2 separate regions of the Homo sapiens genome follow, and region 1 is linked to region 2. The links are contacts of gene promoters, found by promoter capture Hi-C in human tissues and cell types (Jung and others, 2019). All regions are on one chromosome and are shown on one strand. The core of a region is centred on a gene start or on the middle of the fragment in contact, and the rest is flanking DNA. Distances in the headings are between cores, read along the strand shown. Region 1 holds the start of LOC100130268 (a long non-coding RNA gene). Region 2 holds the start of GLIPR1L2 (GLIPR1 like 2).

Region 1 (5,573 bases), core at 560-3,059, 160 kb before region 2:
ACCTGTACATGTTGTTAAACAACAGGTTTTCATGTTGTTACTTAATATTCTTTTGTTTTAACTTGTATAGTACCCTCTAGCATTTTTTATAAGGCATGTCTAGTCGTGATGAACTCCCTTGGCTTTTGTTTGTCTGGGAATGTCTTTATGTATCCATTTCTGAAGGATTGTTTTGCCAGGTGTATTACTGGCTGTAAGGGTTTTTTTTCTTTCAATGCTTTGAGTATATTATCCTACTTCTTCTTGGTCTGCAAGGTTTATGCTGAAAAACATCTACTCATAACTTTTTCAGGTACCTTTTTATGTGATAAGCCATTTTTCTCTTCCTGCTTTCGAAATTATTTTGGTATTTGACTCCTGACAATTTTATTACAATACACAGCAAAGTACTCTCTTTTGGACTGATCTTCATTAGGTATGTTTCAGATTCATAAATCCAGATGTCCATATTCCTTTTAAAATGTAGAAAGTTTTCAGTTGTTGTTTCTTTAAATAAGTTTTCTGGCATTTTCTCTCTCTCCTCCTTCTAGGACTTAATGTATATGTTTGTTTGTTATAGGCTTTTCATGTTTCCTGTATGCTTTCTTCACTCTTTTTCATTTATTTTTTTTTCCCTAACTGGTTAACTTCAGGTGACCTCTCTTTTAGTTAACCGAATCTTCCTTCTGCATGATTGAGTGTGCTGTTGAAGTTCTTAACTGAATGTTTTCAGTTCTATTATTGTATTTTTTATCTCTAGGATTCTAGCTTTTATGGTTTCTATTTCTTTATTAAACTTCTTATTTTGTTCCTTCATTTTTTTCTAATAATGTTTAGTTTTCTGTGTTCTCTTGCATCTCATTGAGCATCTTTAAGATGATTATTTTGAATTCTTTGGCACGTAATTCATAGATCTCCATTTCTTTGGGGGATGGTTACTAGGGCTGTATTGGTTTCTTTTGGTGATGTTATGTTGCCTGATTCTTCATGATCTGCATAGCTTTGCATAGATGTCTGTGTATTTGAAGGAAAAAACAAACAGCTCTTCAGTCTTTACACACTGGTTTTGGCAGGTAAAGATCTTCTATTGTTAGGTCCCTCAGATTTATGAGACTGCCTCCAGGATCACAGTTGAGTGGTGTTGGAGCCAGGTCATATGGCTGCTGCTGGATCCACAGGGGAATCCATGATTACCAGGCCTGTTATTAGTAGTTCAGGTAGACATACATGAATCCTGTCTGATACCTGGGTGGATAAAATTTCCTCCAGGACCTTAGTCAGTAGGGCTGATGTTGGGACAAGAGTCTATTTCATGGTCTGCCATTGGATCTCTAGACAGTGGGACTGTTACCAGATGTCTCTTGCTGGGTCCCTGGGTGAACAGGACTGCTCCCAGATAGCAGCTGGGAGGGATCAGAGGCAAGACACAAAGCTGCTTCATAATCCATGGTCAAACCAGTGCCAGCAGTTCTACCTCTGAGGTCACAGATAGTCATGTCTCCCAAATAATTCCACAGGCAAGACTGCTCCTGGACCATGCTTGAAGGGGCTAGAGTTGGATCATGCACTACTTCAGGGTCCATAACCTGAACTGAAGTCCCAGGTGCTTTTGGCTTTTCCTGTGTTTCTTGGCAGATGGTTCTGGTGTTAGAACTAAGGCCAAATGAAGTTGTAGCTGAATCCAAAGAGGTACATAGCTGATTTTAGGTTTATAGCCAGAACCATGGTCAGTAAGCCTGCCAGATGGGAGCATACGTGTCTTTTCAAAATGGCACTACTCAGTCTTGGGCTCCATCTGGGTTTCACAACCTCCTACCTGGATGCCAAAGCTCCCACAAAGGCAATTTTGTCCATGGATAAATATTGTTGCTGTTGTGGGATATGAGTGAGGCACCTCCTATTTCACTGTTTTCCTGGTATCACTCTTTCATTTTGTTATTATTTATAGTTTCACTTTTTCTGTAAAATTTTTCAATTTTTTTCTTTTAATTCCTTAAACAGGCACACCATGGTTATTTTAAAGTCTGTGTCTGTTTACTTCATTTTCTCTTTTTCTTACTGGTTATTTCTATATTCTCTTCTCTTGGTTTTTAATCATGTTGACTGCCTCCACGAATTACTTCATTTTTTATTGAAATTATAAATGAAATGTTATGAAAATGTGATGACATTAATTCCCTCTAGAAAGGATGCACCTTCCACAAGCATTTCTTTTACTGCTGTATAATCTTTTATTAAGGGTTGCTCAAAAAAAAATAGGAATTGGCTATTCTAACTTAGCAATTATCCAGGACAAGTAAGTGCTTGACTAATTTAGTTAATCTTGCAAATTAAAATTTGACCTTTAACGATACTCTTTATTGATCTATTTAATAACTATATATTGTTAAATATTTTTAAATCTATGCAGCTAGGAGAGCTAGTAATGATAGATCACTTGGATCCTTTTACAGAGATAAGGGTGACTTGATCTGGGCTAACGTTTTTTGAAGGGTTTTTCTACTTATTTTTCAATCTTATTTCTATGGTGTAACCTTTCAAATTCCAATCCAAAGGTGGGAAATTGACTAGTGCTATCCCTTCTTGATAAATTCTGGATACCAATATTTTCCCATAGTCCTACAAGTCTATCTAGGTTTTGCTCTGTTATTTCCTTCTAAGCCTTTTTTTCTAGAATTGACAGGTATCTCTTCTTGAAATACTACCCCAAGTGTCAGGCTTACTTCTCTGAGTTTTTATCTATCCCTGAATCTGACTTCATAATTCCTCACTACCTGTTGACTCTATGTGCTTTCAAGCAATTTTGTGTTTATATTTTGTCCATTTTTCTAGACATTCTAGATGATCTGCATTTTTTGGCTGCCATTTCTAAAAGCATTTCTCTGTTACCATTTGCTAAAGGTTACTCAAAAAAAGTATGGTTTGCCTGTTTTAATTTAGTAATGACATAAGACAAACAGAAACAGTGTCTGAACAATTTTATTTAACTCATTTTTGCAAAGAACTTATTTTAGAATACTTTGTGTTATCTACTTAACAATTATTTATTGAGGGCTTACTATGCACAAAGTACTGCTTCAAATCATGAGCATACAGTAATGAAAAGACACCCAAGTTTCTTACCTCTCAGCACTTACTTTGTCACTGGTGTAATATAAAAAGCAAATGGATAAGAAACTATATAACTTCAGATTATCATAAATGGTATGAAGAGAATAAACCGTGAATTGTTATAGAAAAGTAAATTGCAAGATAAAACTTAAACATTAAAAAGAATCCCTTGTGCACAGTGGTGGGAAAATGGTGTCCAGGCATAGGTAACTAAATAAAAAAATACCCTGAGAAAGAAAAAAAAGCTTGCTATATTAGCAGATCATGGCTAAACTATGATGTTGTTAGCAAGCAATTAGTATAATTTGAAATTCAAAAGGAGCACAGAGTCTGGATCATGTAGAACCTTGTATAAGAACAGCTCAGCTTTGTTCCATAACTTTTTAAAATTGAAGATCATATAAGTTATGGTGCTGTATTATAGCTGAGTTAGCTGCCATAATATTTCTTCCCATTTTCTTACCAAAAAATGCTGTCAGCCCACTAAACTGGTAGGAGTGCCCTATACTGTCAAAACACTTCATAACTACATTGTTTCTACTGACAGTTTTACCTCTTGGAGGGTAGTGGAAGCAACTGGGGAAATTGCTACTCTGAACTTAATAACAAACAAAAGGGAAAAATTGGTTGGAAAAGTAAAAGTGATAAGAACCATGGGGACAGGAAATAATACTTCTTTAGAATTTAAAATCGCACCAAAAGAAAATCCTGAGCACATTCAGACAGTCATTAAATCTTTGAAGAAAATGTTTTTATTAGTTTAAAAACAAAGTGAAAATGGACTCAGGATGTTGGAACCTAAGAAGGAAGACCGCAAGTGTTTCAGAATGTTCCACAAAAAATAGTTCTGCTTACATCATTATGGAAGGAATTTTGATGAGACAGGTCATAGAGGGAAAAGAAAAAAAGGCTAATATAGCCATAAAGAATGCTTTTAAATCAAGTAATACACTTGACTTAGAAAGACAAGCCAGCGGCAATTATAAAATAATGACACCTAAGAATGTTTTCAAGAAGTCTGGTTCATAATGCATTCAAACTTAAAAAAATATTAAAGACAACTAAAAAAATTTTGCTCATTTTTGGAGCAAAAAAACTACCAAAGAAGGAGCAGCTTGAGGGAATATTAATGGATTATGAGAAGAAAATGAAACTGAACTATTTTGCGTTATCCTACAAGATGAATGATTATAGAGTACAATAGACTGACTAACCAGGAGTTGAAAGCCAGATCATAAGATATTTGAAGAGACACAGTAACCTCTCAAAATGAGGCCAATTTTCTTAGATCAGGTGAGTTACCCCTGGAGTGTTAAAATAATTTGCAAATGAATTTGCTGAAGAATATGTGATGGGCATTCATCTTTCAGAAATCTTAGTGAGTAGAGATGAGCTGGTGAAAGCCTAGAGAGAATCTAATATCTTTCTAATATTCAAAAGAGCAGAGAACAAAGTGAAAAATCCTGAAGACTGTTCTTATCTAAATAACACTTTCAGAACGGATTATAACGGTATAGTTTATGAACTTTACAAAATGAAGCTGTTTTTATTAGGAAATAGTAAGTTTACTAATGGCAAGTTATATATTCTAATGCATTTTTCCATCTCTCCTTTGCTTTCTATGCTCCAACCACAGAGATCTCCCTTGCATCCAAAAACCTGGCATACAGTTTGGGTATCCCTTCTCCAAGATATGTGGGGCCAGAAAATTTTCAGATTTTGGAATATTTGCATATATATAATGAGATATCATGGGATCAGACCCAAGTCTAAACACAAGAATTCATTTATATTTCATATACACCTTGTCCACGTAGCTTGAAGGTAATTTAATCCAATATTTTTTAATAATTTTGTGCATGAAACAAATTTTTGACTGCATTTTGACTGTGATCCATCACATGAGATCAGGTGTGGTATTTTCTATTTGTCGCATCATGTTGGCGTTCAAAAAGTTTCAGATTTTGGAGCATTTCAAATTTAAAATTTTCAGATTAGGAATTCTCAACCTGTAATAGAAATGCAGTAAATTTTGTTGAACAGATTATTCAATTTTCTCTAATATGACATCCTTCAGTGGCATTTTCCACACAAGGCCTCTGCACATACTCTTCCCTCTGCCTGTAATGCTCTCATTCTCTTGATTGACACTCTCTTAAACCAAAATTTCTCTGACTCCAGGTCAGAGAAATTTTGGTCATAAACTCTTTGTAGGGCAGTTTTTGAGTGTAGGCAATCTCTTTTATAGATACTTGAAGAAAAGCTAGAGAAATATAATTTGGTTGTGGTTCAGTTAAGTTGAATAGCAACTTTGGATTAAATGACTATATCCAAGAGATAGAGATCAAATAGAGTCTGGAGACAGTGTATGTTATATGCTAACTGTCACTTCATATGATAAAGCAGTGATTTATTTTCTTTGGCCAAAGCTGGTACAATTTGAACAACAAAATAAATAAGAGAGTAATCACATGAGTAGTTTT
Region 2 (5,426 bases), core at 828-3,327:
CACAGAAGTAGCTCTACCACTCCCTGGCTGGGTGGCCTCAGGCAATTTGATTTCTCTTTTTCTCAGTTGTTTTTCCATCTGTTAAAGGGATAATAACTATTTCTTAAGATTTGTGTGACTTGAGTGAGTTGATATTGTCCAAGCATTTTAAATAGTGCCTGACACATTAAATATTTGTGAAATAGATTAAAAATAGTATTCACCACTCTGTATTGTAACTGTTTGATGATTCATCTGTGTCACCTTTAATTAAAAGCTCCCTGTGGATAGACTCCATGTCTAGCTTGTTCAGCATTTGAGCCTTTAGCTGGGCTGTGACACACAGGAAGTACCAAGGAAATATTTATTGAATGAGATGTCTAGCAGTGGAATGGGCTTCCCTGTTGGTCTAATTATTTAAGAAAAGGATGTGATGATCACCTGTCAGTGATGTTCCGGAGAGTATACCTAACACAGGAGGCTAGCAATAGTGGCTAAAATTTCTTCCAAATCTAAGATTGCATTATTCTATTTATACTTTTTCTTTAGCATTTTTTGCAGTCTAACAACAGTACCACCATAATAAAAGAATTGCATCTTTCAGCACTTGCCACCTTCACCCTTAAATAGGTTCTAGCCATACTAAAATACTTCTAGCGTTTAGGATCTTCCTCTCCTTAGGCACATTACATGCTTTTCCCTTTGTTTAGAATGCTATCTTAGACTTGTCTGTTTCACTTTCTGTATACAATTTCCAGAAAGGCTTCCCTGCTCCTCCACAAGAGTACCAAGCAATAGAATTTTGGCTTTGTATTTATCACGTTTTAAATACTGCCTGATTGCTAATTCACTAAATTGTAAGCTGCTTGAAAGCTGGATCTGTGTCTTGTCTACTGATCTTTCTCAATCACTTAAAACTTACTACTATGCAGTCATAGTAGTAAGTATTCAAGGGCATAAATGAAACCATCTTACATAGGTCTATTGTTTTTCAATTGTGTGCATCACAGACAATTTTTAAAAGCACTTTTCTTTTTATAAATGTTTGGCTAACCTGTTACAATGTTTTGTAGTAAAATTCTCTCCCAATGTCAATTTTCCATATCTGCTTAATGCTATTAAGCACAATATGTAATATGCAAACGTGTATTCCAAAACTAATACTTGCTTTTTTTCCATGCTTAGAATTTAAAGTCTTCAAAGCAAGTTGGTTTTGTTTTGTTTTGTTTTTGAGGAAAATGTTTGGAGGTAAACAGATCAGACCAAAATCAGCTAGATATTAGCCAATTTTGTCTGGAACAAAAAAAGAAAACAAAAGAGTTCGTTCTTACTGTGAATGCCACAATTAGTGAAAAAGATGAATCTTGATATTCCGGGCTGTCTGAATTGTGCTGATGAGAGAAGAAGTAGAAATGTTTTAACCTTTGAAGAGTTTGGTGATCCCTACTCTCCCTTCACTCCCATTTATTTTGTGGTTTCCCACAAAGGTTCATTTAAAAACTGAAAAAAATCTCATCAATTAAGTTGGCCTTAAGAACTTCTTTGGCCTTAAGAACTAGCAATATTTCTGTATTCCATTCTGTCCCTGAGGAAAATAAAAGGCAGGCCCTGCACCAAATTTCCAACTCAACAGGTAATGGGGAAAAAAAATTTAATTGAATTTGTATCTGTATCGCAGAAAAATCATTTCACCTGGCACAATTAGAAGGTTCCTCAGACCTGTTACTCAGCAATTGGCATTTACCATACAAACTGATGACTCATTAATAACGACATATCATTCAGTGTCAGAAATCAATTCGGGATAACATTTCACTACATTAGTTTAGTGAAAAGGGCTTACTCACGTAACACAAGTCTTTCTTTAGTTTGTCAGACATCTATTACCAGCTTTCTTCACTCTGCAGGTCTAGCTTTCCCCTCCTCTCCCCCTCCCCTACCCACTCTCCCCTCCCTCTTCTCTCCTCCCTCCTCCTTACCCCCTCCTCCCTCCTTTGTTTTTCCCTCCTCCCTCCTCCCTTTCTCCTTCCGGGAGGCGGGACAAGGCTTGCTTGCGTCCTCCGTAGATTGGCAGGTCACTGGGACGGCCAGCGCGTGCGCACTGGCCTGTCAGCGGCCGGTGGACCATGGAGGCCGCAAGGCCCTTCGCCCGGGAGTGGAGGGCCCAGTCCCTACCCCTGGCAGTAGGGGGCGTTTTGAAGCTGCGGCTCTGTGAGCTGTGGCTACTGCTACTGGGTTCTAGTTTGAACGCCAGATTTTTGCCAGACGAGGAGGACGTAGACTTTATCAACGAGTACGTGAACCTCCACAATGAGCTGCGGGGCGACGTCATTCCCCGAGGGTCTAACTTGCGCTTCATGGTGAGGCCGGAAGGCGGTTTGCCGACCCTTCCACTACCGTTGCCACAACGCCTCCCTGGATCTCGGGTAGTTGGGGCCACTGCTCTGAGGCTGAAGGATCGCGGAGAACCGCACTTTTAGCTTGGTTTTTAAAGTACACGTGAAGTTTACACAGAGAAAAACTGCGGACACTCTAACACATGCTTATTACCATGATATTACACAGGGCCAGGACTAAGGTGATGGAGGCACTGGCCTGAAGTGCAGATTTTAAGGGGGCGCCAATTCAAGAAAATGATATTTTAATGCAACGGGTTTTTAAAAATTAAAAATCAGTGCAAAAATATCAATATCAAGGGTAAAGAAAATGTTAAAAAATTTAACAAAGACAGGTTCCTTGGGTCTGGATTAGGGAAAAACAAGTGCGACACTCTCAGGGTGGTGCAAATCAAGATGAGATTCTGTTTGTATTTGAAATTTTTATTTTTAGCTTTTTCCATCATCGATGTCACATTAGCTTTGCCTTTTAAAAATGTTTGTTATCTTGATTTTTTTTTTTTGTGCCCATTCCAAATTTGGCTCCTAAGGAAGTGTCTCAGTTTCCTCACCCTAGTCTTGACCCTGATTTTGCCTTACCTTACAATGCGGTTCTTGCTTTCCCCCTCTTTTACACCCTATAGTCATTTAACAACTCAACTATTCCCTGGTTGCTATTGAGTTTTCCTGACTGTCATTAAAATGACTGAAAATCCGGCAAATAAATAACTGTCCTCTTAGGGAATTAGAAGCTTCAAACTTATAAATTATATTGCAAGGACTACTTTCCTAGACATGTCTTTTCTTCCTTCAGCATTAGTTCTTAGCACAAATTTCAGAAATGGGATAAATAAATTAAGGGTATGATATTTTTTATTAATTTAACACATAGCAATTGCTATGCTAAAGGGTAGTGCCAAATTTAGCAAATACCAGCTGTTCTGTTTTCACCACATCCTCACTGATTTGGACATGTTCAATTACTTGCTAAATGAATAAATTACAAAAATGGTCATTTGTTTTAATGTTGATTTTAAAATACTATTTTGATAGGACATACTTGAGTTCTTTCTTCGTCATTTCCTTTACCTTTTATATTGTCAGCATTTCCATGTCAGATTATATGCTGTCTTATAGAACTATGCTAGCATTTGGTTCTATCTGCTGAAGATACTTTTTTCTAAGCCAATTCTTTTTCTTTTGAATTCAATTATAGAGTTTGGGGATATTTGGGAGTTTCAACTAATTTCCCATTTTTTGTGACTAATTCTGTTTCTTCCCAATTTGAAGATTATCCTTACTCCTGAAAATTAATAAACACATAATACTTTCTAATACAACTTTTCATAGGTTTTCTATCTCATCTCTAAAAATTATATAGTATTTCAAACATAAGGTATATAAAATAATATACCTGTATACCCACAATCGATATTTTTAAATATAGACATTTTTAAAGGAATAGTATTTGATATATAGGTTAAAGTCCCACCCTAAATTTTTACCTTTTTCTTCTTTCTTGAAGTTAATGTATATTTTTCCCATGTATTTTATTAGGACATAAATATTAACTGTAAATAGTATAGTCTATCATAATAGTATGGCCTATTTAAAATGTTTCTTTAGCAGATTTGGACATCACTCAGCTTATTTAAACTCTTTTATTGGTTATTTTTAGTATTTTAATGTATGTACTTTTTATAAATTCCAAAAGTTAATACCTGTAAACTCCACCCAAATATTAATAAGATCTTAGAACACAAATTCTGAATACTTTCCATCCTTATTCATGCTATTGCCGTGTAGTACTTTTGTTCTACCTTGCTTTTAAATACCAAAAAAATTGTTGTTTTTAAAAAATTGTATTACAATATACAGGACATAACATTTACCATTTTAACCATTTTTAAGTGTATAGTTCAGTGGCATTAAGTACATTTGCATTGTTGTGCACCCATTACCACCACCTATCTCCAAAATTTTTTCGTCTTCCTGAACTGAGACTCCATACCCATCAAATAATTACTTTACTCTCCATCTCCCCTCCTCCCAGGCCTCTATCACCATTCTACTTTCTATTCCTATTAATTTGACTTCTTAAGGTACCAAATATAAGTGGAATCATATAATATTTGTCTTTGTTACTAGCTTATTTCATTTGGTATAATGTCTATAAAGTTCACCCATGTTGTAGCATGTGTCAGAATTACCTGTCTTTTTACAGCTGAATAATATTCTACTGTATGCATATACCACATTTTGTTTATCCATTCATTGGTCAGTGGATATTTAGATTGCTTCCATTATTTGGCTGTTGTGAATAATACTGCTATAGACATGGGTGTACATTTATCTGCTCCAGTTCCTGATTTTGCTGTTTTTGGGTATATACCCAGAACTGGAATTGCTGTATCATATGATAATTCTGTTTAATTTTTCAAAGAACCCCCATTCTGTTTTCCATAGTGGCTGCACCATTTTACATTCCCACCAAGAATGTTCAAGGGTTCAATTTCTCCACATCCTTGATAACACTTGTTATTTTCTGTTTTATTTTCCTTATTCCTCTTTTTTTCTTAATGATAACCATCTAGCAGTTATGAAGTGATACCTCACTGTATTTTTTATCTGCATTTCCCTAATGATTACTGATATTGAGCATCTTTTTATTTGCTTCTTGACCAAGATTTTCTCTTCTTTGAAGAACTATCTATTCAAGTCGTTTGCACATTTTTTGGCCAACTTGTTAGATTTTTTGTTGTTGAATTATAGGAATTTTTATAGATTCTGGATATTAATCTTTTTCAGATATATGATTTGAAAGTATTTTCTCCCGTTTTGTAAGTTGCCTTTGCACTCTATTGATAATATCCTTTGATAAACAAAAGTTTTTAACGTCAATGAAGTATAATTTATCATTTTTTGTTGTTATTGTATGTATTTTTTGTCGTATCCAAGAAGTCATTGCCAAATTCAATATCATGAAGCTTTTCCCCTGTGCTTTTTAAAGGTTTTATAGTTTTAGGTCTTTGAGTTAAGTTTTGTATATTGTGTAAGGTAAGGGTCCAGCTT

What was found. Contacts are between HindIII fragments. The study calls those that stand out against the background at their distance.
Region 1: a fragment that was not itself captured here is called in contact with the fragment with the promoter of GLIPR1L2 in region 2 in 1 of the 25 tissues and cell types used here (heart right ventricle).

What each region holds. Positions count from the first base shown.
Region 1 is chr12:75,230,735-75,236,307 of GRCh38, forward strand. LOC100130268 (a long non-coding RNA gene) reads left to right here and starts at 4,006. Exons shown (of 2, transcript NR_149000.1): 1 at 4,006-4,383. The HindIII fragment of the contact is 5,670 bases long and covers 1-4,644 here.
Region 2 is chr12:75,389,012-75,394,437 of GRCh38, forward strand. GLIPR1L2 (GLIPR1 like 2) reads left to right here and starts at 2,078. Exons shown (of 6, transcript NM_001270396.2): 1 at 2,078-2,339. The coding sequence starts at 2,106. It also overlaps a transcript of CAPS2 not described here. RefSeq lists a silencer at 1,880-2,052 and an enhancer at 2,010-2,139. The HindIII fragment of the contact is 8,343 bases long and covers 1-4,223 here.